Regions from separate parts of the Homo sapiens genome. Here all the other regions are linked to region 6. Evidence: promoter capture Hi-C in 16 types of primary human blood cells and fetal thymus (Javierre and others, 2016). All regions are on one chromosome and are shown on one strand. Each heading gives the region's core, a stretch centred on a gene start or on the middle of the fragment in contact. The rest is flanking DNA. Distances are from core to core; before and after follow the strand shown. Region 1 has its middle 9.5 kb from the start of RTL8C. Region 2 has its middle 9.0 kb from the start of SMIM10L2B. Region 3 holds the start of RBMX (RNA binding motif protein X-linked). Region 4 has its middle 14 kb from the start of SMIM10. Region 5 has its middle 8.2 kb from the start of SMIM10L2B. Region 6 holds the start of MMGT1 (membrane magnesium transporter 1). Region 7 has its middle 33 kb from the start of RBMX.

Evidence for each region. The method cuts DNA at HindIII sites, captures the fragments that hold promoters and counts their contacts. A CHiCAGO score of 5 or more calls a contact.
Region 1: a contact is called between a fragment that was not itself captured here and the fragment with the promoter of MMGT1 in region 6, in 1 of 17 cell types (neutrophils). The highest score is 8.7, in neutrophils.
Region 2: a contact is called between a fragment that was not itself captured here and the fragment with the promoter of MMGT1 in region 6, in 3 of 17 cell types (neutrophils, naive B cells and total B cells). The highest score is 6.7, in neutrophils.
Region 3: a contact is called between the fragment with the promoter of RBMX here and the fragment with the promoter of MMGT1 in region 6, in 12 of 17 cell types (naive CD8 T cells, neutrophils, fetal thymus and 9 more). The highest score is 13.2, in naive CD8 T cells.
Region 4: a contact is called between a fragment that was not itself captured here and the fragment with the promoter of MMGT1 in region 6, in 7 of 17 cell types (neutrophils, non-activated CD4 T cells, naive B cells and 4 more). The highest score is 7.7, in neutrophils.
Region 5: a contact is called between a fragment that was not itself captured here and the fragment with the promoter of MMGT1 in region 6, in 1 of 17 cell types (monocytes). The highest score is 6.5, in monocytes.
Region 7: a fragment that was not itself captured here is called in contact with the fragment with the promoter of MMGT1 in region 6 in 5 of 17 cell types (fetal thymus, total CD8 T cells, non-activated CD4 T cells and 2 more); the score reaches 8.6 in fetal thymus.

Annotation. Positions count from the first base shown.
Region 1 is chrX:135,039,810-135,043,861 of GRCh38, forward strand. No RefSeq gene overlaps it. Among named protein-coding and RNA genes, the nearest start is that of RTL8C, 9.5 kb to the left of the region's middle. The HindIII fragment of the contact is 5,942 bases long and covers 1-4,052 here.
Region 2 is chrX:135,105,792-135,109,730 of GRCh38, forward strand. No RefSeq gene overlaps it. Among named protein-coding and RNA genes, the nearest start is that of SMIM10L2B, 9.0 kb to the left of the region's middle. The HindIII fragment of the contact is 6,245 bases long and covers 1-3,939 here.
Region 3 is chrX:136,878,410-136,882,214 of GRCh38, forward strand. RBMX (RNA binding motif protein X-linked) reads right to left here and starts at 2,316. Exons shown (of 9, transcript NM_002139.4): 1 at 2,188-2,316; 2 at 910-1,044; 3 at 608-714. The coding sequence starts at 1,018. It overlaps SNORD61 (small nucleolar RNA, C/D box 61), which reads right to left and starts at 862; the gene lies at 790-862. RefSeq lists enhancers at 1,241-1,840, 1,642-1,701, 1,712-2,171, 1,841-2,439. The HindIII fragment of the contact is 13,799 bases long and covers 1-3,805 here.
Region 4 is chrX:135,002,949-135,006,688 of GRCh38, forward strand. No RefSeq gene overlaps it. Among named protein-coding and RNA genes, the nearest start is that of SMIM10, 14 kb to the left of the region's middle. RefSeq lists enhancers at 1,124-1,634, 1,635-2,143 and a silencer at 1,157-1,216. The HindIII fragment of the contact is 2,953 bases long and covers 296-3,248 here.
Region 5 is chrX:135,088,628-135,092,406 of GRCh38, forward strand. No RefSeq gene overlaps it. Among named protein-coding and RNA genes, the nearest start is that of SMIM10L2B, 8.2 kb to the right of the region's middle. The HindIII fragment of the contact is 620 bases long and covers 1,861-2,480 here.
Region 6 is chrX:135,972,318-135,976,290 of GRCh38, forward strand. It overlaps MMGT1 (membrane magnesium transporter 1), which reads right to left and starts at 1,671. Exons shown (of 4, transcript NM_173470.3): 1 at 1,280-1,671. The coding sequence starts at 1,358. It also overlaps a transcript of SLC9A6 not described here. RefSeq lists an enhancer at 1,220-1,749 and a silencer at 1,760-1,869. The HindIII fragment of the contact is 2,640 bases long and covers 315-2,954 here.
Region 7 is chrX:136,911,708-136,915,395 of GRCh38, forward strand. No RefSeq gene overlaps it. Among named protein-coding and RNA genes, the nearest start is that of RBMX, 33 kb to the left of the region's middle. The HindIII fragment of the contact is 5,729 bases long and covers 1-3,688 here.

The DNA of each region.
Region 1 (4,052 bases), core at 558-3,057, 930 kb before region 6:
CATTTTCTTTGCCAGCATTCCAGACATTTATACTAGTACATTTTCCTTCTTCTAAAGTATATCCTATAGATATACTCCTTTAATAATGGTCTATTAGGGAAACTGTGATGTCTTTCATTTTCTGAAAAGTTATTTTATCCTCATTCTTTTAAAATTATTCTTGTTGAGTCTCTTTGACTTGTGGAACCATTCATATCTCTTTTTTTCTATATAATATTGTATTATGTACCACCAAAACCTTAGTGATGCAATAGTTCTTAAATGACAATTTCACTTTTTTGTCCTAAATTTTTCCCGTTAATCCATCGTCATCAGTTTGGCAAGTTTTGATACAGGTGCTTTTAATGTTTGCATGTAAGCAGGCAGTAACTATTATGTCACAGCAGCCCCTGGGCCAACAACAATTCATAATTTTGATTGATTGTAATAAACACCTTGATATAAGAGATATTAAAAAGTGACAAATTTGAATAGAATTGATGGAAACAGCATTATTCTGTAGTCTTTTAGCTTCCATTTTTGCTATTAAAAAATTATTTGTCAGCCTAATTTTGTGTTTCCTCTTTAGTTGTTTGAAAGATCTCTTTGTGTTTGGTGTTCTGTAACTTTTCTACTGCTTATCTAAATATACAATCCTTTTTCTTTTTCTGATATTAAAAAAACTGAGATATGTTACATCCAGCAAAGGATAAAAATCTTAAGTGTATAACTAGATGAACATTTACATATGTATACATCAGTATAACACCACTCAGATCAATGTATAGAACATTTCCAGCATTCAAAAGGACTCTCATGCCCCCTCTCAGGCAGGAGCCTCTTATGTATAAACATTCTTCTGACCTTTATTACCAAAGATAAACTTTACCTGTTTTTGAACTGCTTGTAAATGAAATTATACAGAATTTATGCTGTATGTCTGTGAGATTCATCTATGTTGTGTGTTTCAAGTGTTCACTCTTATTTATTGAGGTATAAGTTGATAAGTCTGTGGTGATATCTCATTGTGCTAAATTTGCATTTCTAGGCTGAGTGAAGTGGCTGACACCTGCAATCTCAGCACTTTGGGAGGCTGAGGTGGGAGGATTACTTGAGCACAGGAGTTCCAGACCAGCCTGGACAATATAGTGAGACCATATCTCTAAAAAAAAAAAAAAAAAAAAAAAATTAGCTAGGTGTGGTGGTATGCACCTGTAGTCCCAGCTACTCAAGAGGCTGACAGAATCACCTGAGCCTGGGAAGTCCAGGTTGCAGTGAGTTGTGATTGTGCCACTGCACTCCAGCCTGGGTGACAGAGTGAGACCCTGTTTCTAAAAAAAAAATTACATTTCTATTATTACTAATGATAATGCGTGTCTCTTCATATGCTTTTTACCCACTTTGCTACCCTTTTTAATGAAATGCCGATTACTATGGTTGGAATATTTGTCCCCACTAAAACTCATGGTGCAACTTGATATGGTTTGGCTGTGTCCCCCCAACCCAAATCTCATCTTGAATTGTAATCCCCATAATCCCCACATGTTGTGGGAAGGACCCAGCAGGAGGTAACTGAGTTATGGGGGCGGTTTTCCCCATGCTATTCTTATGATAATGAGTGAGTCTCACAAGAGCTGATGGTTTTATAAGCATCTGGCATTTTCTCTGCTGGCTCTCATTCTCTTTTTTTTTTTTTTTTTATTTACCTGCAGATTAAAGTGTTCTTTATTTTTCTGCCTCTCTTTCTTAATTTTTTTTTAAATAATATGGATTGTAGTAAAGAGAAAGAAAAGAAAGAAAAAAGAAGGAAGGAAGGAAAGAAGAAAGAAAAGGAGGAAATGAGAGAAGGGAGGGAGGGAGGAAGGGAGAAAGGCAGGAAAGGAGAAAAAAGAAAGCAAGAACTCAAGAAAGAAAGTGAGAAAAGAAGGAAGGAGGAAGAGAGAATCTGGCTCTCATTCTCTATCCTGCCACCCTGTGAAGAGGTGCCTTCCACTGTGATCCTAAGTTTTCTGAGGCCTCCCCAGAACTGTGAGTCAATTTAACTGTGAGTCAATTAAACCTGTTTTCTTTATAAATTACCCAGTCTTGGGTATTTCTTCACAGCAGCATGAGAACAGACTAACACAACTTAATCCCCAGTGTGGCAATATTGAGAGGTAGGGCCTTTAAGAGGTGATTGGATCATCTCTTAAAGTAAATGGATTAATTCATTCATAGATTAATGGATTAATGGGTTGTTCTGGGAAAGGAACTGGTGGCTTTATAAGAAGAGAAAGGGAAAGGGAAATCTGAGCTTGCAAGTTAGCACACTCAGCTCCTTCACCATGTGATACCCTGCACCATATTGGGACTCTGCAAACAGTCCTCACCAGCAGGAAGGGTCTCATCAGTTGTGACCCCTTGACTTGGACTTCTCTGCCTCCATAACTGTAAGAATACATTATTAAAAAAAAAATTACACTGTTTCAGGTATTCTGTTATAAGCAACAGAAAATTAACTAATACACTCATTCAAAAATCTCACCTATTTTTTATTGGTTTCTCATTTTATTGACTGGTGGCAACTATTTATATGTTCTTTTTTTAAAAAAAATTTTAGTTTCAGGGGTACCTGTGCAGGTTTGTTATATAAATTGCATGTCGCAGGGCTTTGGCATACAGATTATTTTGTTGCCTAGGTAATAAGCCTAGTACCCAATAAGTAGTTTTTCAATCTTCACCCCCATCCCACCCTCCAACTTCAAGTAGGCCCTGGTGTCTATTGTTTCTTTCTTTGTGTTCATGTGCACTCAATGTTTAGCTCCCACTTGTAAGTGAGAACGTGGTATTTGGTTTTCTGTTCCTGCTTTAGTTCACTTAAGATAATGGCCTCCAGCTCATTCCTTATTGTTGCAAAGGACGTGATCTCATTCTTTTTTATGGCTGCCCAGTATTCCATGGTGTATATGTACCACATTTTCTTTATTGAGTCTACCATTGATGAGCATTTAGGTTGATTCCATGTCCTTGCTATTGCTAGTGCTGCAATGAACATATGCATGCATATGTCTTTATGGTAGAACAATTCATATTCCTTTGGGCATGTACCCAATAAAGGGATTGTTGGGTTGAATGGTAGTTCTATTTTAAGTTCTTTGAGAAATTGCCAAACTGCTTTCCACAGTAGCTGAACTAATTTACATTCCCACCAGCAGTGTATAAGTGTTCCCTTTTCTCTGCAACCTTGCAAGCATTCTCTTATTTTTTGACCTTTTAATAATAGCCATTCTGACTGGTGTGGGATGGTATCTCATTGTGGTTTTGATTTGCATTTCTCTAATGATTAGTGATGTTAAGCATTTTTTTCTTATTTATTGGCTGCTTGCATGTCTTCTTTAGAGAGGTGTCTGTTCATGTTGTTTGTCCACTTTTTAATGAGATTTTTTTTTCTCATTGAAATTGTTTAAGTTCCTTGTGGATTCTGGATATTAGACCTTTGTCAGATGCCTAGTTTGCGATTATTTTCTACTATTCTGTAAGTCATCTGTTTATCTGTTGATAGTTTCTTTTGCTGTGCAGAAACTCTTTAGTTTAATTAGGTCCCATTTGTCAATTTTTGCTTTTGTTGCAATTGCTTTTGGTATCTTCATCTTGAAATCTTTGCCAGGACTTATGTTCAGAATGGTATTTCCTAGGTTTTATTCAAGGGGTTTTATAGTTTAAAGTTTTACAGTTAAGTCTTTAATCAATCTTGAGTTGACTTTTGCATATGGTGTAAGGAAGAGGTCCAGTTTCAGTCTTATGCGTATGCTAGCCAGTTATCCCTGCACCATTTATTGAATAGGGATTCCTTTCCTCATTGCTTGTTTTTGTCAACTTTGTCGAAGATTAGATGGTTGTAGTTGTGTGGTTTTCTATCTGGGCTCTGTATTCTGTTACATTGGTCCATGTGTCTGTTTTTGTACCAGTACCATGCTGTTTTGGTTACCGTAGACTTGTCGAATGGTATGAAGTCGGGTAGTGTGATGCCTCCAGCAGTTTTGTCCTTTTTGCTTAGGATTGCTTTGGCTATTCGGGCTCTTTTGTGGTTCCAT
Region 2 (3,939 bases), core at 423-2,922, 870 kb before region 6:
TAAAGGGTTGTGACAGGTCTCTGTTGCCTGTACTTGCAGTGAAGGGGGCTTGTAAGGAGGTGGAAACTGAGGCTCTGAGATAGGTTAGGTGGGAGTCTGTGAACCCAGTGTATTTGCATTCACAATCAGCATTATTATTTATTTATTTTTAAATTTCAACTTTTATTTTATTTTATTTTCTGAGACAGGCTCTTGTGCTGTCACCCAAGCTGGAGTTCAGTCATGCGATCTTGGCTCACTGCAACCTCTGCCTCCCAGGCTCAAGCAATCCTGCCTCAGCCTCTTGAGCAGCTGGGACTACAGGCCATGCCACCATGCCCCGCTAATTAAAATTTTTTTGTGTAGAGATGGGGGTCTCACTATGTTGCCCAGGCTGGTCTCAAACTCCTAGGCTCAAGCAATCTTTCCACCTGAACCTCCCAAAGTGCTGGAATTACAGGCATGAGTCACTGTGCCCAGTCTCAGCTTTTATTTTAGATACACAGGGGTACATTTGCAGGTTTGTTACATGGAAATATTGTGTGATGCTGAGGTTTTGGATATGAATCCTGTCACCCAGCTAGTGAGCATTGTATCCAACAGATCGGTTTTCAACTCACCCTTCTCCCTTCCTCCCTCCTCCCCCTTCTAGTAGTCCACAGTGTCTATTGTTTCCATATTTATATCCATGTGTGCTTAATGTTTAGTTCCCATTTTTGAGCTGGAACATGTGCTATTTGGTTTACTGTTCCTGTGTTCATTCGCTTAGGATTATGACCTCCAGCTCCATCCATGTTTCTGCAAAGTAGTAAGATTTCATTCTTTTTTATGGCTGCATAGTATTCCATGGTGTATTTGTGCCACATTTGTTTTATCCAATCTACCATTGATGGGCACCTGGGTTGATTCAGTATCTTTGCTATTGTGAATAGTGCAACCATGAACACATGAGTGCATGTGTTTTCTTGGTATAATGATTTATTTTCATTTGAGTATATACCAGTAATGGGATTGCTGGGTTGAATGGTAGCTGTTTTAAGTTTTTTGAGAAATCTGCAGACTACTTTCCACAGTGGCTGAATTTATTTACATTCCTATCAACAGGTATAAGCATTCTCTTTGCAGCCTCGCCAGCATCTGTCATTTTTTGACTTTTTAGTAATAGCCATTGTGACTGGTGTGAGATGGTATATCACTGTGGTTTTGATTTCCATTTCTCTGATGATTCGTGATATTGAGCATTTTATAATATTTGTTGGCCACCTGTATGTCTTCTTTTGAGAAGTGTCTGTGCATATCCTTTGCCCATTTTTAATGGAGTTATTTGTTTTTTCTTGTCAATTTAAGTTCACTATAGATTCTAGATATTAGGCCTTTCTTGGATGCATAGTTTGTGAATATGTTATCCCATTATGCATGTTATCTGTGTTTTTTTTTTCTCTATTGACAGTTTCTTTTGCTGTGTAGAAGCTCTTTAGTTTAATTAGGTCTTATTTGTCCGTTTTTGTTTTTGTTGCAATTGCTTTTGGGGACTTAGTCAAAAATTCTTTGCCAAGGCTGATGTTGAGAAGAGTATTTTTTAGGCTGTCTTCCAGGATTTTTAGAGTTTGAGGTCTTACATTTAACTCTTTAATTGATTTTGAGTGAAATTTTATATATAGTGAAAGGTAGGGTTCCAGCTTTAGTCTTCTACATATGACTAGCCAGCTATCCCAGTACCATTTATTGAATAGGGAGCCCTTTCCCTATTGCTGGTTTTTCTCGGCCTTGTCGAAGATCAGATGGTTGTAGATGTGTGGCCTTATTTCCAAATTTTCTATTCTGTTCCATTGCTGTATGTGTCTGTTTTTGTACCAGTACAAAAAGCTGTTTTGATTTCTGTGGGTATATAATATAATTTGAAGTTGGGTAGTATGATGCCTCCAGCTTTGTACTTTTTTCCTAGGATTGCATTGGCTATTCAGGCTCCTTTTTGGCTTCATGTGAATTTTGGAATAGTTTTTTTTTCTAATTCTGTGAAGAATGATGTTGGCAGTTTGATATGAATAGCATTGAACCTGTAAATTGCTTTGGGCAGTATGGCCATTTCTATATTAGTTCTTCCTACCCATTAGCATGGAATTTTTAAAAATTTATTTATGTCATCTCTGATTTCTTTCATCATTGTTTTGTAGTTGTCCTTGCAGAGATCTTTCACCTCCTTGGTTAGCTGTATTCTTAGGTATTTCATTTTCTTTGTAGCTATTGTAAGTGGGTTATGTTCTTGATTTCACTCTCAGCCTGGATATTGCAGGTGTGTAGAAATGCTCCTGAGTTTTGTACAATGATTTTGTATCCTGAAACATTACTAAAGTGATTTATCAGTTCTAGGATCCTTTTGGCACAGTCTTTAGGGGTTTCTAGGTACAGAATCATATAGTCAGTGAAGAGAGATAGTTTGACTTCTTCTTTTGCTATTTGGATGCCTTTTATTTCTTTTTCTTGCCTGATTGCTCTAGCTAAGACTTCCAGTACTATGTTGAAAAGGGGTGGTGGGAGTGGGCATCCTTGTCTTGTTCCAGTTACCAAGGAGAATGGTTTGAGCTTTTGCCCACTCAGTATGAACCTGGCTGTGGGTTTGCCATAGAACCTTATTATTCTGAAGTTTGTTCCTTCAATGCTTAGTATGTTGAAGGTTTTCATCATGAAGGGAAGCTGGATTTTATTGAAAACTTTTTGTACATCTATTGAGATGTTCATATGATTTTCCTTTTCATTCTGTTTATGTGGTGAACCTTGTTGATTGATTTGCATATGTTGAACCAGTCATGCATCTCAGGAATGAAGCCTACCTGATCATGGTGTATTAACTTTTTGATATGCTGCTAGATTTGGTTTGTTAATATTTTGTTGAGGATTATTGCATCTATGCTCATGAGGGATATTGGTCTGAAGTTTTCTTTTTTCATTGTGTCTCTGCCAGATTTTGGTATTAGGCTGATGTTGGCTTAATGGAATGAGTTAGAGAGGAACCCCTCCTCCTTGATTTTTTTTGGAATAGTTTCACTAGGATTGATATTAGTTATTCATTGCACATCTCATAGAATTTGGTTATGAATCCATCTGGTCCAGGGCTTCTTTTGGTTGGTAGATTCTTTATGACTGATTCAATTTCAGAAGTTGATATTGGTCTATTCAGGGTTTCAATCTCTTCGTGATTCATTCTTGGGAGATTGTGTGCTTCTAGGAATTTATCCATTTCCTGTAAATTTTTAGTTTGTATCCAGAGAGTTGTTCATAGTCATCTCTCAGGATCTTTTGTGTTTCTGTGAGATCAGTTGTAATATTGCCTTTGTCATTTCCGATTGTACTTATTTGGATCTTCTCTTTCTTTGTCTTTGTTAATATAGCTGGTGATCTATCAATCTTATTTCGTTTTTCAAATAACCAACTCTTGGTTTCATTGATCTTTTGTATGTATTTTTGCATTTCATTAAGTGCTTCTCTAACTTTAGTTATTTCTTGTCTTCTGCTAGCTTTGGGTTTTTTTTTTTCAAGTTCCTTTAGGTGCAAAGTTAGATTGTTAATTTGAGATTCTTCTAACTTCTAGCATTTAGGGCTATAAAGTTTCCTCTTATTAACACTGGTTTGGTTGCATACCAGAAATTTTTGATGTGTCCCAATTTTCATTAATTTCAAATAATTTTTAAATTTCTTCATTAATTTTGATGTTCACCAGGGATTTATTCAAGAGTAAGTTATTTAATTTACATGTATTTTTGTAGTTTTGAGAGATATTCTTGATATAAATTTATATTTTTATTGCACTGTGGTCCAAGAGTTTGGTTGGTATGGTTTTGATTTTTTGAATTTATTGAGACTTGGTTTTATGACCAAGAATGTGGTCGATCTTAGAATATGTTCCATGTGCAAACGAGAAGAATGTACATTCTGTGGTTGTTGGGTGGAGTGTTCTGTAGA
Region 3 (3,805 bases), core at 1,066-3,565, 910 kb after region 6:
ATCAAAATATGGCTTATGGATCTCAAGATAAAATGTATCATGTTGGCTGGGCGCAGTGGCTCGCAGTGTCTCACACCTGTAATCCCAGTACTTTGGGAGGCGGAGGCAGCTGGATCACCTGAAGTCAGGAGTTTGAGACCAGCCTGGCCAACATGGTGAAACCCTGTCTCTACTAAAAATACAAAGTTAGCCGGGCGTGGTCGCGCATGCCTGTAATCCCAGCTACTGGGGGGGGGGGGGGGGGCTGAGGCAGAAAAATCGCTTAGAACTCGGGAGACAGGCTGCAGTGGGCACTGCACCATTGCACTCCAGGCTAGGCAACGGAGGGAGACTATCAAAAAAAAAAAAAAAAAAGTACCATGTAATGCCATAATTATTCTGAACTGAGAGAATGTTACGAGCATAAGATATAACTCACTACTAGATTTGGTTCTGCAATTACAGAATACTCTTTGGAACAGGATCACAAACAGGATGAGTGGATCCCAGACAGGTATATACTGAAAAACAACGAAAACTCAAAAGCTGTCCTAGACCAGACTTGGACAACTACATGTTATTTTATGCACTAGTAACAGGTTATCATCCATCGTGTAGACAATCTCACCTTTCCATTCATGTCTCTGGCTGCATCCTTAGCGTCTGCTGGGCTTTCAAAGGTGACAAAAGCAAATCCTCTTGATTTGTTGGTTTCACGGTCTTTCATCAAGAGTACTAAAAAGTAGTTTTCAGAAAAATAAAGTGTTACCCTAGGTCAAATGAAATAACCAAAGTAAATGTGTAAACAGAAAGCTCAGAACTTCTTAGAGGACAAAAATACATTATCATGTCAGACGATCAATGCAATCAAATTCATCATAGCTTATATTTTAATTATAATAGCCCAGCCTGTACTGCCAGACAACTCACCTTCCACTATTCGTCCATATTTGCCAAATACTGCTTCAAGAGCTTTCTCATTTGTTTCCGTATTAAGCCCACCAATGAAGAGCTTTCCTGGGCGATCTGCTTCAACCATGTTTTTTTTTTTTTGGGCCGGTGAGTCTGTTGAAAAGGAATAGTATTACCTCACTGCAAAAAGTTCCTCAAGTTTATTGGACACTTTTACTTTCGCACATTTCTCATATTTTCCACTAAAACCATTGTTCCTTAATAACTAAAGAAAACGATAACGAGCTAAGCCTCAGCCACAGTAGGAAGCAATTTGAACTAAGTAGTTTAGTAACACTGCAATTTACATAAAACTGGTTAAAAGGGCCAACTTAACTTTTACCACTACCCTTGATCACCCTTAGCTGTTCTTAAGCAACAGCTGCTTAACATTTGAAAAAGCAACTTTTAGTTCCAGTCCTCTTGCCTTTGAAAGATTCAATTACTCATCACACCCTTCCTAACGATGGTTTTAAAAGACTCCCAAGGTCACAGGCTAGACACAGGACCTTAACACCAAGCCCTCTTCCAACGACTCCTCTTTTCCTCATTAGGATTCCCTACTAAATCCAAGGAGAAATGTGAAGTTTAAGCCAAGTTATGCCGCCCCTCTTCTTCACCGGCCCCCGCCCTACCGAAAATTCTACTATCCGGCCAAAAAGATAAAAACAAATCGTCAACATCGTTTGCTATTAAGTAACGGAACGCGGACGCACACACTAACACTCGACACTCCGTGACTGCAGCGGAACCTAATTAAAACTCGTCATTAAAAACCGCGTGTAAAAGACAAAATGGCGACACTTGGATTCAACCCAGAACCACCGACACTGGTCAGGGGACTAACTTTTACCACCAACATTGGCTGGGAACATTCAGAGGGCTTCTTCTCCGGGGCCGCCAATGAATACGAAGCCCGCAGCCCGCATGGAAGTCCACATGCCCATCATTAGCGCCAGCGCCATACCAATGCAGGTATCGCCGTGGTGCGGTCGCTCCTCGCCCCGCTCCAGCCTACAAAGCCCCGACCTCCGCTACCAACTCCCGCAGATGGCAGCCAAACTTTCTCGAGAAGCATACAACCAAACGGGCCCCCTCATTTGTTTTCCCTCGACCCCCTCAGCTTTATTTAAATAGGTCGGAACCTTTGGGTTCTTAAAATGGCGCCCGCCACCCCCATCTCCAGGGAGATATAATCCCCAGTCCTAACACGGGGAGAGTGTCACGAAAAACGGACTGAGGAAAGGAGACACGTACCGGAGGGGTGACAATGGGTTCAAGCTCCAACGAGCTCGGCGATAGGGGCTTCCTAGCAGCTCAGCACCAGTGGCGGCTGCCGGGTGCGAGGACCGAACCGCGAAGCCGCTAGCACTACTGCGCAACGAGGGCGAACAAAGGAGACAGCAAACTTTATACTGCCCGGGAACGAGGCTGAAGGACCCGGATGGAAACGGAGCTTAGAATTTGAAACGCAAAGGGAGGGGGGAAGTAGTTCCCAGTCTCCCCATTGGCTGGCTCCTCTGTCATTCACCCTTCTCTCCTCCCTTTTTCCCGGGCCCTCGGTGTTGGGTCGACAGACCTTTCTAACCGTTTTCTCTACCCCCACCCGTTCTTTACAAACGCGCTTTTTTTGCTTTACGCTAAAATGGTGCACAGGCTTCCTTTAATAAAGAACTGAAGTTTATTGAGCGTCCTAGTGGGCCGGGCACGGTGCAAAACTTTACTTTTACTTTTCCATTAACTCTTCTAATTGTCAAAATGTGATGAGGGTAGATACTCCTACTATACCAATTTTGCAGAAACGGAAAACAAAGAAGTTTTGGCAATATAATATATTTTCAAAAATTGTCTTTAACAAGTGTTTTTAGTGAGTGTGGGAATTTCTGATAAATACATGTAAATTTCAGATGAGTAAAAAACGTACAAAACAGCATGCAGATAGTACATTCATATAGAACAATTACTGAGCACCTTGTAAATGGTGGGCTCTGGGCTAGGCCAGGAAAATACAACTCCAGGGAAAAGACAAGAGTCAGGCCTGTGGGTAAGGATGCCGGATTTAATAAATGAAAATACCAGGCCGGGTGCAGTGGCTCACGCCTGTAATCCCAGCACTTTGGGAGGCCAAGGTCGGTGGATCACGAAGTCAGGAGATGGAGACCATCCTGGCTAACACGGTGAAACCCCGTCTCTTTTTAAAAATACAAAAAATTACCCAGGCGTGGTGGCACGCGCCTGTAGTCCCAGCTACTCGGGAGGCTGAGGCAGGAGAATCCGGGAGGCGGAGGTTGCAGTGAGCCAAGACTGCGCCACCGCACTCCAGCCTGGGCAGGCGACAGAGCGAGACTCCGTCTCAAAATAAAAAAGAAAATGCGGGACGCTAATTTATTCTGCGAAGCTGTTAAAAAATTTTAAATAAAAATATGGGACGCGGCCGGGGCGCGGTGGCTCATGCCTGTAATCCTAGCACTTTGGGAGGCCGAGGCGGGCAGATTGCCTGAGCTCAGGGGTTTGAGACCAGCCTGGGCAACATGGTGAAACCCCGTCTCTACTAAAATAAAAATAAAAAATAAAAAAATTAGCCGGGCGTGGCGGCGTGTGCCTGTAGTCCCAGCTACTCGGGAGGCTGAGGCAGGAGAATTGCTTGAACCCAGGAGGCGGCGGTTGCAGTGAGCCAAGATCATACCACTGCACTCCAGCCTGGCAACAGAGCGAGACTTCGTCTAAAAAAAAAAAAAGGGACGCCCAGTTAAGTTTAAATTTCAGATAACGAATACTTTTTTTAGTATAGTATGTCCCAAATCTCATATTTTAAAAATTCGCTGTTTATCGGAAATTCAAATTTAACTGAGCATTCTATATTTCATCTGCCCAT
Region 4 (3,740 bases), core at 522-3,021, 970 kb before region 6:
TGCAATCCCAGCACTTTGGGAGGCCAAGGCGGGAGGATCACCTGAGGTCAGGAGTTCAACACCAGCCTGGCGAACATGGCAAAACCTCGCCTCTACTAAAAATTAAAAAATTAGCCAGGCATGGTGGCATGTGCCTGTAATCCCAGCTACTTGGGAGGCTGAGACAGGAGGACTGACTGAACCTGGGAGGCAGAGGTTGCAGTGAGCCAAGATCGCGCCACTACACTCCAGCCTGCACAATAGAGCGAGACTCCATCTCAAAAAATAAAAAAGTAAACCGGTAACAGTGAAACTAAGCTTCTCTTAAATGTTCCAATATTATATGTATATATATGTAGTATGTAGTATGTATGTATATATGTAGTATGTATGTATATAAAAATTAGTAAGAGTTTTACTTAAAATCCTAACTCTAAACCCATGATTAAATTATGTATTTTAAATTCGAACCGCATCTTCTTTGGGCTGAGCTGTTTTGGGCATCCAAGGGGGGTTGACACACAGCAGTATCTCATAAAAACACATGATTCATGAAAGAAACAGAAGTGTCATTAAAACTGACTGCCCTAAGTAAATGGTGTATTATGTGCATATATGTGATTATGATGTTAAAGAAAGTAATGTAATGATCAGAGTGGCAATTCAATTTTGTGGTGTTGGTAAAACACTAAAAGCAAATGTTTCTGGTAAAATAATACAATCCCTCCTATTTTTATATTTTCAGCATCTCTGAAGATGTCCTATAATTATTTTCATTTAGTGTCCTAATATAGCAAATTAATAGATTTCTGAACATTTAACCCACCTTCTATTAACTGTTCATGGTGCATTACTCTTTGAATGTGCTGCTCTGGATGTTTGCTAATATTTGGGGCTTTCCTATTAATGTTTCAAAGTAACCACATCTGCGGCCAGGGAGCCAATAATCTGGCTGAGAGATGCATGAAGGAGGAAAATGTGTTCACAGAACCTCACTCCAGTGGCGTCCACAGCCGAGAGTCAGTAAAGGGACACGCTACAGCTGATGAGTTAGGTGAGGGGAGGAGTACGGTAGGAGGCCGCATCACCTTCCAGAACACGTGTCCTCTGCTCTCTTTGGGCAGCGGGCGCAATCTCCCCTCACACCGCAAACTGTCCTGGGATCTTCCCCCGCGCACCGCCCCTCGCCCGCGCCTGCCTTGGGAAATCTTGGCCCCACCTTTCTGATTCAGACCCCGCCTCCTGAAGAGAGTTAAGCCCTCCCCCACGTTCTCACAGCCGCGGCCCGGCCCCGTTCTGAGCTTGCGCACTAGTGACCATCGGGCTTTGGGGGCGGAGCCCGCGCAAGCACTCAGGCCACGCCCATGGCCAAGCCCACATTCCGCCCCATGGACAGGCCCACATTCCGCCCCATGGACACGCCTCCACAACCATGCATTTCCGGTGATGCTTAGAAATATAAAGATCGGAGTGGTAATGTAATTTTGTGACGTTGGTGAAAGACTAAAAGCAAATGGCAAAATCATACCCACTGACCTGAAATAGGGTCCAAATCGGGACAAAAAGGACATTTTTCTTTGCCTCCACCCTCTGACACAGCCTTTAGGAGGACAATGCCCTACGGCTGCCCCCAGCTGCCTAGAATCCACTCTACCCCAGACTACAGTGACAATTCTAAGCCCACCTGTCTTATGCAGAAACCGGGAGGCAGAAGGGGGCACACAACAGGAAGGGGAAGAAATGTTCTCTGAGGGAGAAACAGGTCCGTTTGGCACTTTCCACAGATGCACCCAACTCCGACTGGAATAACTGCTGCTTACTCCTCTGCTCATTGTGTCTTTGCAATTAAAAGAAAAAATTGAAGTAATTATCTCTGGTGAGTCACTTTCTGTATAGTTCACTTGTTATTCTCTCCTTTGTGCCATTATGAATTGACAAGTCCTTTGCAATAAGATAGAGAACAGTTTTGTAATAAAAAAGAACACAGTTGTTTAAAAAAAAACATGAAAACACAGGTTACAAAAAATGAAGCAATAAGGTAATGCACATAAATTAAGTCAAAGCAATGGAAAATAAATTGCAAACACAATAGAGTTATAAATATATATGGAAAAGAAGGACTAGATGACAATAAAACAAGATATAAACTGTTTCAGTTTATATGGTAAGAATAATGCTATTTTTTTCTAATAATCTCTGTTTTCAAATTTTCTTTAATGAATATCTGTGTACCAGCCCTTGTCCATTCTAGGGTGCTGTGGGGTTAAGATCAAACAAGGTATAGAATCACACATGCCTGGGTTTTAATCCTGCCTCAGCAAATTACTAACAGTATGTCCTTGAGCAAGTGACTTGACTTCTCTGAGACATACATATAGGGCCTGGCTGCCCAGATTACTATAAGCATGAAGAAAGATGATACAGACTAATGCTCAGCACAGGGTCTGTCAGAGGTAGTAACTGGGCTAATTGTAGCTATTACAATAGGGAACTTGATGGGTTTGTGATTTTGCTATTTATTTATTTTATTATATTACTAATCCTCAGTTAAAAATACATGTGAGAAGCATCCCCCAAATCTCACCAAATTTTTCTTTAGTTTCTTACCCTGTAGGTCCTATTTCTTCCTTGAGGGCATTTACCGCATCTTGCCCTCATATAATGTCTCTTTCCCCAGACATTGCCCCTCTCCATCCAGGCTCCTCATCGTCACTTACAGTTTCTCTGGGGAGTTAGGATGGCAGGGTGAACCAGCCTTATATACTCCCTAGTCTATGGATGGTGATAGCTCAGGGAACCTCCAGCAGCAGCAATTCCTGTCTCAGTGTGTCCCTGGCTTTCTGAGACAATGGTCATCTTAACTCACACATTCCCTTGTATAATGAAAAAATGAGGGAAGATGACATGTACTTGGCCAATGACCCTCCACTATCTGGGGGCCAGTGCAACTGGGCATCGAAAGCCTTATCTGGGCTGAGTGGCAGTGGCTCACACCTGTAATCTCAGCACTTTGGGAGGCTGAGGCAGGAGGATTGCTTGAGGCCAGGAGTTTGAGACCAGCCTGGGCAATATAGCAAGACCCCCCTCTCTACAAAAAAGAAAAAAATAAGCTGGGCGTGGTAGTGCATGCCTGTAGTTCCAGCTACTCGAGAGGCCGAGGCAAGACAATCGCTTGACCCCAGGAGTTGAAGGCTGCAGTGAGCTATTATTGTACCACTGCACTCCAGCCTGGGTAACAGAGCAAGATTCATTACTGGATGCCCATCACAAGCTTTCAAAGACTGTGTGTGGCCGCCATCGGCTGAGACAGTGCTAGAAGGGAATTTGGTTAATGGTAATAACTTGGACGTCACTGGCCATCTGCTCCCTAATCCTTCAGTCCCTTTCAAACTCCCCACTGCCCAGAACAACATTTCAGAGAATCTCTGGGAAGAGTGGCACACATATGGAGGCGTGGGCAACAGTAGCTGGCTGGGAGTGGTTCACAGCCTAATGTGAGACTCATTCTGTAACACAAGAGAGGGTAATAAAAGGCATATCAATCAAGTTTCAGCTGCAATTGGAGAAGTGATTTGAGCTTAGCATACTAGTAAAACCCTAACACAAGAGGTGAGACACTGCAGCTTGGGCCCCTCTAGACTGAATGGAAAGAATAGAGTTTCTGAAACCGGCTGTTTAAGATCACTATGAAATCCCAGGGAGAGAGCCATGCCCAACCACCCAGTGTAGCACATCTATAGGCAGGACAGACTGTTTGCAAT
Region 5 (3,779 bases), core at 921-3,420, 880 kb before region 6:
CCTCTTTTGTTTATAAATTACCCAGACTCGGGTATTTCTTCATAGCAGTGTGAGAAAGGACTAATACAGTAAATTGGTACCAGGAGTAGTGAGGTGTTGCTATAAAGATACCTGAAAATGTGGAAGTGACTTTGGAACTGGGTAACAGGAAGAGGTTGGAACAGTTTGGAGGGCTCAGAAGAAGACATGAGAATGTGGGAAAGTTTGGAACTTCCCAGAGGCTTGTTGAATGGCTTTGACCAAAATGCTGATAGTGATAGGGACAATGAAATCCAGGCTGAGGTGGTCTTAGATGGAGATGAGGAACTTGTTGGGAACTGTAGTAAAGGTCACTCTTGCTATGACAAGAGATTGGCAGCATTGTGCCCCAGCCCTAGAGATCTGTGGAACTTTGAACTTCAGAGAGATGATTTAGGGTATTTGGTGGAAGAAATTTCTAGGTGGCAAAATGTTCAAGAGGAAGCAGAGCATAAAAATTTAGAAAATTTGCAGCCTGATGATGTGACAGAAAGGAAAACCCCATTTTCTGGGGAGAAATTCAAGCCTGCTGAAGAAATTTGCATAAGTAGCGAGGAGCTGAATGTTAATCACCAAGACAATGGGAAAAATGTCTCCGGGGCATGTGAGAGACCTTCATGGCAGCCCCTCCCATCATAGGCCTGGAGGCCTAGGAGGGATCAATGGTTTCCTGGGCCAGGCCCAGGGCCACCCTGCTCTGTGCAGCCTCAGGACATGGTGTCCTGTGTCCCAGGTGCTTCAGCTCCAGCTGTGGCTAAAAGAGGCCAAGGTACAGCTCAGGCCATTGGTTCAGAGGGTGCAAGCTCTAAGCCTTGGTGACTTCCATGTGGTGTTGAGACTGTGGGTGCACGGAAGTCATGAACTGAGGTTTGGGAACCTCTGCCTTGATTTCAGAGGATATATGGAAATGCCTGGATGTCCATTCAGAAGTTTCCTGCAGGGGCAGAGCCCTCATGGAGAACCTCTGCTAGGGCAGTACAGAAGGGAAATGTGGAGTTGGAGCCCCCACACAGAGTCACCACTGGGGCACTGCCTAGTGGACCTGTGAGAAGCGGGCCACCATTCTCCAGACTGCAGACCCCAGAATGGCAGATCCACCAACAGCTTGCACCGTGTGCCTGGAAAAGCCACAGATGCTCAATGCCAGCCTGTGAAAGCAGCTGGGAGGGGGGCTGTACCCTGCAAAGCCACAAGGGCAGAGCTGCCCAAGGCCGTGGACATCAGCATGACCTGGATATGAGACATGGAGTCAAAGGAGATAATTTTGGAACTTTAAGGCATAATGACTGGCCTATTGGATTTCGGACTTGCATGGGGCCTGTAGCCCCTTTGTTTTGGCCGATTTCTCCCATTTAGAATGTATGTATTTACCCAATGCCTGTACCCACATCATATCTAGGAAGTAACTAACTTGCTTTCAATTTTACAGGCTCTTATGTAGAAGGGAACTGCCTTGTCTCAGACTTTGGATTTGGACTTTTGGGTTAATGCTGGAATGAGCTAAGCCTTTAGGGGACTGTTGGAGAGGCATAGTTGTGTTTTGACATGTGAGGACATGAGATTTGGGAGGGGCCAGGGGTGGAATGATATGGTTTGGCTGTGTCCCCACCCAAATCTCATCTTGGATTATAGTTCCCACAATCCCCACATGTGGTGGAGGGGACCCGGTGGGAGGTAATTGAATCATGGGCTTGGTTACCCCATGTTGTTCTCATGATAATGAGTGAGTTCTCATGAAATCTGATGGTTTTATAAGGGGTTTTTCCCCCTTTGCTCGGCACTTCTCTCTCTTGCCACCTTGTGAAGAAGGATGTGTTTGCTTCCCCTTCCACAATGATTGTAAGCTTCTTGAGGCCTCCCCAGCCATGCAGAACTGTGAGTCAAGTAAACCCTTTTTCTTTATAATTACCCAGTCTTGGTTATTTCTTCATAGCAGTGTAGGAATAGACTAATACAGACTCAATGTCTGCTCTTCATCAATGTCATATTTAAATATTGTGGCAAGTGACTGAGCCGCCTCGGCTGGTTGCTGTTGCCTGGGGTCCTGCTTGTCACTTGATCCTCTTCCTGGGAGGAACTGGGAATGTGAGATGATGTGGGGTTGTGTCCAGAGGGTCAGGCATTCATGTGTTTGTGGCATCCATTAACTACAAGGCCAAGACATCCATGTCCAAGGAGAAGGCCCCAGGGTTAGAGCCAGGAGCCCAGACTAAAGGCAGTGTGGGCGAGCCTGCCAGCATGGGAGGGGAATGTTCTGCTTTTTCTCCAAAACAGGAGGCCAGGAGGAAGAGTCAAGGAGTCTGTGCTGTTCTCCACTGGTCAGGCAGTTGAGGAATATGGCCAGATCAGTCCTCAATGATCCCATCGTTCACTAGAGATTCCCACTCTCTGAGCCACCCTAATGGGGAAGGAGTTGAGGGCTAGGATTGCTTGGGAACTAATGGGATGGGGCTACTTTTGTAAGCTTTTTATACCACAGGGGCAGGACAAGGGCTGCAGGGGATTGAATGAAAGGCCAGGAGAGAAGTTCATCTATGGAAAAGGCCCAGTGGTGAGATAGTAAAATGTGTCAGCAAATTTTGTTTTCATTATTGAGTTGAAATCCACATAACATAAAATCAACCATTTTGAAATGTATAATTCAGTGGCATTTAGTACATTCACAATGTTGTGTAACCATCACCACTGTTAGTTCCAAAACATTTTCATCTCCCTAAAAGGAGACCCTGTACTCATTAAGCAGTCACTCTCCATCCTTCCCTCCCCTAGACCATGGCAACCACTAATCTGCTTTCTGTCTGTATGAATTTACATATTCTAGACATTTCATATAAATGGAATCATAAAATTTGTAATCTTTCGTGTCTGATTTCTTTCACTTAGCATAATATTTTCAAAGTTCATCCACCTTGTAATATGTATCAAATCCTTCATTGTGGGATTATTTTGGGGCTGAATAATATTCCAGTGTATAAATATACCAAGTTTTGTTTATTCATTCATCAGTTGATAGACTGATAGACATTTGGGTTGTTTCCACCTTCTAGCTATTGTAAATAGTGCTGCTATGAAAATTCATGTTTGAGTACCAGCTTTCAGTCATTTGAGTATGTACCTAGGAGTGGAAATGCTGGGCTATAGGATAATTCTAGGTTTAACTATTTGAGGAACCACCTGTTTTCCACAGTGGCTGCTGTACCAGTTTACATGCCCATTAGTAATGAACAAGGGTTCCAATTTCTCCACATCCTCACCAACACGTGTTATTTTAATTTTTTTAAAAAAAGTTGAGCTGTGCGTGGTGACTCACACCTGTAATTCCAGCACTTTAGGAGGCTGAGGAGGGTTGATCACTTGAGGCCAGGAGTTCAAGACCAGCCTGGCCAACATGGTGAAATCCCGCCTCTACAAAAAACACAAAAACTAGCCAGGTGTGGTTGTGCACGTCTGTAATCCCAGCTACTTGGGAGGCTGAGGCATGAGAATCACTTGAACCCAGGAGGCAGAGGTTGCAGTGAGCTGAGATTGTGTCATTGCTCTCCAGCCTGGGCATTGAAGACTCTGTCTCTAAATAAATAAATAAATAAATAAATATCCTAATGTGTGAAGTGGGTGAGGTGAGCTCATTGTGGTTTTGATTTGCATTTCCCTAATGACTAATGACATTGAGCATCTTTATGTGCTTGGTGGCCATTTGTATCACTTCTTTGGAGAAATGTGTATTGAAACTCTTTGCCCATATTTTGATTGGGTTGTCTGTC
Region 6 (3,973 bases), core at 421-2,920:
AATTCAAACTGTTTTTGAGTGCATGTGTATTGACTCTTGAAGAAGAATGTGTTTAGAGACATTTCTTAAGTTTTAACCTACAGCTCTGTCATAAAGACAAGTGTAAAAGAAACATCAAACCAACACCAAAAATCGATTTTGACTAATCTCCTATCTGGTTCAATTCCTAGCTAGCTTGCTAGTTTGCATGAAGCCTCGCCTGCTTCTAACACTACCTTTAACCAGGAATTTCCTCATCTGTAAAATGAAGGGGTTGGACTTCAGTGAACTCCAAAGGCCCTTCTCGCCCCACAATCATATAATTCTACAGTTAAAGCTTACTGTAGAAAATGACACAGTACTCCAGTGTATCCTAATCTCTTCCAGGACAGTGTTTCTCAAACTAATGCGCATACAAATCACCCTGGGATCTTATTAAAACCCAGATTCTGATTGAACAGGTCTGGCCTGAGTATCTTCTAATTACCTGCCAGGTGGTGCTCATGATGCTGGTCTGTTGATCACACTGTAAGCAGCAAGGATCTAGGATACTTTCCTTAACCTCCCAGTTCCCCCAAAATATGACTGTCCCTGCTTCCATGCATCCTTATATACTTTTAGCATATCACTTTATTGTAACTACTTCTTGATCCACTTGTTTTCCTTTAGACTTTGAACTGGCTCAGGGCATCACTGTATCTCTAGCACCTAAACACAGCGCAATTTCAAACAGCGACCCAAAACTGAATTTCATAACGCAGTGTAGCACAAATCTTTTGCCCAACGTCACACAGATGTAGCGGTAATGCAAGTTTTTAACAACCAGTCCTTTAGACTCCCAGTCCAGTGCTCTTTCTCCTGTACCACAGTGCCTCCCTGAGGCAATCGGTCACTTAACTACTCAGTCTCTGCCTGGACAGCCCAAGAGTGCCCAAGATGTTGTCCACTTGGTTGTCGTGGGACCATGAGCAACCAGAGTCCTCAATCTCACAACTGTGCCTGATCTGCCCCATGCTGGATCTGACATCACTTGTCCTGGATTCCTGGAGACTCCTATTCTGAACCCTCTCCCAGACACCTCCTTCCAACCTTCCTGCAATTTCAGGTGCCACACTCTCTCCAAATTCAAACTCCGAACCTTCCACTGGGAACTCCTGCACTGATTTTCTTAGTCACCCCAAACTGTAAGGTCTCAAAGGACCATTAATCTGACACTCGGTCCGATGGTCCCTTAGAAGTGCGCCCACACACCGCCCCTAGGGTTCCACACCGAAGCGGTCCCCGTGCCCCAGGCACTTACGCTGCGCAGCGGAAAAGGCGGCGTGGGCTAGGGCAAAGAGACCGATGCCCACCAGCCCCTTCCACAGCGACGGCGCCATGATGCCGAAGGAGCAGCAGCCCAGCAAAAGAAGCGAAGGACGGCGGAGCTGTTTCTTCTTCCACCGGCGGGTGTCCGCGCGCCGCAGAAAGATGACGTCACTGAAGTCCTGAGCGCAAAGTGTCTCAGTGGTGGAAAAGCCAGAGGGCTGTGAGAAAACGGAAACAGGAATGCCGGGAAGAAGCAGAAAGCTACACGGAAAAAGGTCCGCGAGAACCCACGAACCTGCGCTATGGAGGCCTCTCTAGGAGGGCCGGAGCCCAACGGAGTCATAAACGAAGAGGCGAAAGCGGGAGCTACGGGGAAGCGAAGAGGAAGGGCGCCGGCAAATGGGGGCAGGGCCAGTGGCGAGAACAGGGTGGGGCAGAGGGACGGGGGCCTGCGTAGAGAACGTGTGGGGGCGAGGGGCGGGGTAGGCAGACGGGCGGGGTGGGGAAGACGCGCGGGGCCCGCACGAGGGTGGGTGTAGCCGAGGGGCGGGGCCAGTGGGTGGGTGGGTGGGCGTAGCCGGGGGGGGGGGGCCCTGGTGGGTGCGGTCGAGTGGCGGGGCCTGCGGGGAGGATGGGTGGGGCCGAGGGGCGGGGAGGAGGTGGGGCCGAGGGGCGGGGAGGAGGTGGGGCCGAGGGGCGGGGAGGAGGTGGGGCCGAGGGCGGGGCCTACGGGAGGATGGGTGGGGCGTAGGGGGCGGGGCGGAGGGGACGGAGAGTGGGTGAGGGCCGAGGGGGCGGGGAGGAGGTGGGACCGAGGGGCGGGGAGGAGGTGGGACCGAGGGGGCGCGGAGGAGTGGGACCGAGGGGGCGGGGAGGAGGTGGGGCCGAGGGGCGGGAGGAGGTGGGGCCGAGGGGCGGGGCTGGGGGCGTTGGGGAAAGGCGGTAGGTGCTGGATATAGACCCCTGACAGTTGTGTTTTGTGGGTTGGTTGGTTTTGGCTTTTTGTGAAACTGTGCCTTTTGTTTTCTGTAGGCCTTTCCTGTGCTTCAGCTCCCTGGAAACTGGCACTGCAGAAGGAGGCAAGGGTGTTAAAACGAGGAGGCAGTGTCAGGACAAAATCCCAGGATCTGGAACCCCAAATACTTGGCTCGCGGGAAGTGCTCAGTAAACCATTTTAAGGTCCTGGAGAAAGATTCGCGCAAAAAGAGGTGTAGCGCGGGGGGAGTGTTTTGTCGTGAAAAGAACCAGCTTACATTAAGGAAGAAATGAAAGAGGAAATTTTAAAATGCTAATAACGCAGCCTTCTTGCCTTGTCTCTATCTCTGATCCGGGTAAAATGTATACTCCTCTGCCCATTTTTCTTTGTCTTCATCTCCTGAAATGTAGACATTTAATAGTGAGCTTCTCCCCTTGACCTCATCACTCTGCTGTCCCCTGGGGAGCTCACCCATTCATTCCCACCGCTTCAGCCAGCAAAGGTATTACAGTGATTCCAAATCGACATCTCTATCACAAATATCTCTCCTTAGCTCCAGGGCTGCATTTCTGACTACCAGATAGGCATTTATTTCCTGTGGCACTTAAAACGTAATATGGCTAAAATGGAATTCATCCTTTTTTTCCAAATTCTGCACCAGTTCCTCCAGTGACCCCTGACTGAGTGGCAAAGCTTTGTAAACTGCATATCACAAGGTAAATGCAAAGTATGATCACCATTCTTTTCCTTTAACCCAATCAGAATTCTACGTTTTAGTTGCATCAATTTGCTTTTGCTCAAAGATGCGTCCTATCCTGACCACCCCTTTTAAATGTGCAAAATTCCTATTCCTGATCCCCTTATTCTGTTCTACTTTTTATATCACCTTCTAACATACTATATAATTTAACTATTTATGTTTGTTGTGTTACTGTTTACTGTCTGTCTTTCCCCACTGGAATGTAAGCTCTGAGAGAACAGAGATTTCTCTGTACCTAAAACTTTGACTGTCATGTGATAAGCATTCAATAAGTGCTTGTTGAATGACAAATGAATTCCGGAAAATAATTGGGACAGTATCCCTATTTGAAAGGATCTCTACAGAGAGTCCTTCCAATCTTTTGAATTGGGCTCAAAAATCCCCATGGACTTGCATGTACTCTCACATTTTGACAACCTTTTGATTGTAAACATTTTCTGATATGCTTGAGCTTCCTCAAAGCTGGAAAAACAAATAAGACATCTCATTAGCTGGGCATAGTAGCACATGCTTGTAGTCCTAGCTACTTGGGAAGCTAAAGAAGGAGGATTGCTTGATCCCAGGAGTTCAAGGCTACAGTGAGCCATGATTATGCCACTGCACTACAGGCTGAGTGACAGAGCGAGACCCTTTCTCTAACCAAAAAAAAAAAAAAAAAAAAGTAGAAGAAGACATCTAAAATTAATCATATTTCCTCAACTTTACTTATATAATTTTTGTCCTGGATCTCATTTTCCAAACCTTTAGTCATGTTCATTATTCTTTTCTGGGCCCTTTCCAATTTCTTCACCTCTAAGCCAGAATTTTACACAATACTTGATGGATGTCAAGTGCAGTATAATGCATTCCTTACAAATGTAGTTCTATTTATACAATCAGGAAGAACCAGGAGATAATCTCTCTGTAGTTGACAGGAAAGTGCTTCCTTCTCCGCCCCTGGGAGGTAATAA
Region 7 (3,688 bases), core at 660-3,159, 940 kb after region 6:
ACGCCCAGCTAATTTTTTTTTGTTGTTGTTGTATTTTTAGTAGAGATGGGGTTTCACCATGCTGGCTAGGCTGGTCGAACTCCTGACCTTAGGTAATCCACCCACCTCGGCCTCCCAAAGTGCTAGGATTGCAGGTGTGAACCACTGCACCTGGCAACATAAACTTTCTATACTGAATGAGACCTGTTTCCGGTATTTGGGGTTCACACATTTAAGTCTGTGATACATTTTGGGTTTTTTGTTGTTGGAAGATGTGAAAGGTTGAGATTAACTTTTTTTTTTGCCTATAGATATCTAATTTCTTTAGCATGGTTTCTTGAAAAGACTATCTATCCTTCCTCCGTGAAATTGCTTTTGCACCTTTTCAAATTTTTTTTGGCAGAGGCTTGCTCTGTCCCCCAGGCTGGAGTGCAGTGGCACCATCTTGGCTCACTGCAGCCTCCACCTCCTGAGCTCAAGCGATTCTTCTGCCTCAGCCTTCTTCTTCTTCTTCTTTTTTTTTTTGAGATGGAGTCTTGCTCTGTTGCCCACGCTGGAGTGCAGTGGTGTGATCTCGAGTTCAAGCAATTCTTCTGCCTCAGTCTCCCAAGTAGCTGGGATTACAGGCATCCGCCACCATGCCCGGCTAATTTTTTTTTGTATTTTTAGTAGAGATGGGGTTCCATCTCTACTACATGGTTCCATCTTTCTACATGGTTCCAACATGTTGGCCAGGCTGGTTTCGAACTCCTGACCTCATGTGATCCGCCCACCTTGGCCTCCCAAAATGCTAGGATTACAGGTGTGAGCCACCTCACCTGGCCCTGCCTCAGCCTTCTGTGTAGCTGGGACCACGCCCAGCTAATTTTTGTAGTTTTAGTAGAGACGGGGCCAGTCTGGTCTCAAATTCCTGACCTGAAGTAATCCACCTGCCTCGGCCTCCCAAAGTGCTGGGATTACAGGTGTGAGTCACCGAGCCTGGCAACTTTTTCACCTTTGTAAAAAATCACTTGGGCATAGTTGTATGGCTGTATTTCTGAGTTTTCTGTTGTACTGTTACATTGGTTTGTGTGTCAGGCATTAGCTTTTTGATGATTAAATTTGCATGCAATACCTTTGTGGAGTGCCATTGTTCTAACAGGAAAGTGTACCTTATCAAGAAATGCTATCCCTTGGACTGAAGAAACTTGGCAGTGTAGTACAACTCTGCTGCCAATAAGATTCTTTTTTGGTTCATATTTGTATTATTTCAGGACAGTAGGTGCTAAAATATGACTCTGTTTTTCATTGTTTACTCATGCTCATTATTTCCTGATTCATAACATTGGCACATTTCATCTGAAGGCTCTGGAAGAAAATAATAATAATAATAATAATAACACTGGGCCAGGTGCGGTGGCTCATGCCTGTAATCCCAGCATTTTGGGATGCCGAGGCAGGCGGATCACCTGAGGCTGGGAGTTCAAGAACAGCCTGACCAACATGGAGAAACCCTGTCTCTACTAAAAATACAAAATTAGCCGGGCATGGTGGTGCATGCCTGTAATCCCAGCTACTCGGGAGGCTGATGCAGGAGAATTGCTTGAACCTGGGAGGCGGTGGTTGTAGTGAGCCGAGGTGGTGCCATTGCACTGCAGTCTGGGCAACAAGAATGAAACTCCGTCTCAAAAACAAAAAACAAAAAGTAAAAAAACCACTGGCACTTTACCTTGATAATCCTCCATAGCTAGACCTTGTAAATAAGAAATTTTGTATTAAAAGTATCAAATATTTTATGATCACATTCTTTTGGTAACAGTGTTATTCAGAGAAAAATCACGTACCATATAATTCACCCACTTAAAGTGTCTAATTTAGTGTTTTTTAGTATATTCACAGAGTTGTACAACCACCACTACCATCAATTTTATTGTCACTTTTAAGTGAAGGATTGTATATCAGGGTAGTTCTTAGGAAGCTAGGGTGGATTTCATATCCCACCTTGTATGTTATTGAAGAAGACAAATTCTTCTCTTCAGTGATGACAGCATTGTGTGTGTGTCTAGTTGTAATCATTTCAGTTACAAATGAAAAGTAGAAGAGGAAAATGTAGAGAATAATGGCATACTGAAGTCTTTGAAGAAGTTTTACCTGTAAGATAAATTGCTTATTTCATATCCCACCTTGTATGTTATTGAAGAAGACAAATTGCTTATTTCATATCCCACTTTGTATGTTACTGAAGAAGACAAATTCTTCTCTTCAGTGATGACAGCATTGTGTGTGTGTCTAGTTGTAATCATTTCAGTTAGGAATGAAAATGTAGAAGAGGAAAATGTAGAGAATAATGGCATACTGAAGTCTTTGAAGAAGTTTTACCTGTAAGATAAATTGCTTATTTCATGACATTTGAATTATAAACTTTAGCCAAATCTCTTAATATTTTCAATTTTTTTCTTAACAGTTTTAACAAAACAGAAATGTGTAAAAATTTGTGTAAAATCTTACGATCGAGACCAAATGGACAAGCTGGCTTTTTTTGAAGAAAGTAATACGACTGAATTACTAGCATCATTGGTAGGTTTGGCATCTGAAATAACATGACTTGGCTGGGTGAGGTGGCGTGCCACCTCAGCACTTTGGGAGGCCAAGGTGGACAGATTGCTTGAGCTCAGGAGTTTGATACCAGCCTGGCCAGCGTGGCGAAAACCCATCTCTACTAAAAATACAAAAATTAGCCGAGCATGATGGCAGGCACCTGTAATCCCAGCTACTTGGGAAGCTGAGGCACATGAGAATTGCTTGAACCTGGGAGGCGGAGGTTGCAGTGAGCCGAGATTGCACCACTGCACTCCAGCCTGGGTGAAAGAGTGAGACGCTGTCTCAGAAAAAAAAAAAAAAATTAACATGACTCAATTAATTTTTCAATTCCTTTCAGAAGTTTTTTGTTTGTTTGTTTTGAGACAGGGTATTGTTCTGTGGCCCAGGCTGGAGCAAAGTGATGTAATCATAGCTCACTGCATCCTCAAACTCCTGGGCTCAATTGATCCTCTTAGCCTCCTGAGTAGCTAGGACTACAGGCATGTGCCACCATGCCTGGTTAAGTTTTGATTTTCTTTTTTGTCTTTTTTTTTTTTTTTTCTTGAGACAGAGTCTAGCTCTGTTGCTCAGGCTGGAGTGCAGTGGCGTGATCTAGCACACTCGAAATCTCCACCACCCAGGTTCAAACAATTCTCCTGCCTCAGCCTCCTGAGTAGCTGGGATTACAGGCACCCGCCACCACGCCCAGCTAATTTTTGTATTTTTAGTAGAGACGGGGTTTCACTGTGTTGCCCAGGCTGGTCTTGAACTCCTGACCTCGTAATCCGCCCGCCTCAGCCTTCCAAAGTGCTGGGATTACAAGTGTTAGCCACCGTGCCCAGCCTTTGTTTTTTCTTTTTTGCTGTCACCTTATTTTTTTTTTATTATTTTTATTTTCTTTTTGTAGAGACAGGGTCTAGCTATGTTGCCCAGGCTGGTCTTGAACTCCTGGCCTCAAGCAGTGCTTCCACCTTGGACTCCCAAAGTGAGTCACCACACCCTGCCAAAAAAGTATTCTTTATTTTTTATATTTTATTTTATTATTATTTTTTGGATATAGGGTTTCTCTCTGTCACCCAGGCTAGCGTAAAGTGGCACCATCTTGGCTCACTGCAACCACCACCTCCCGGGTTCAAGTGATTCTCGTGCC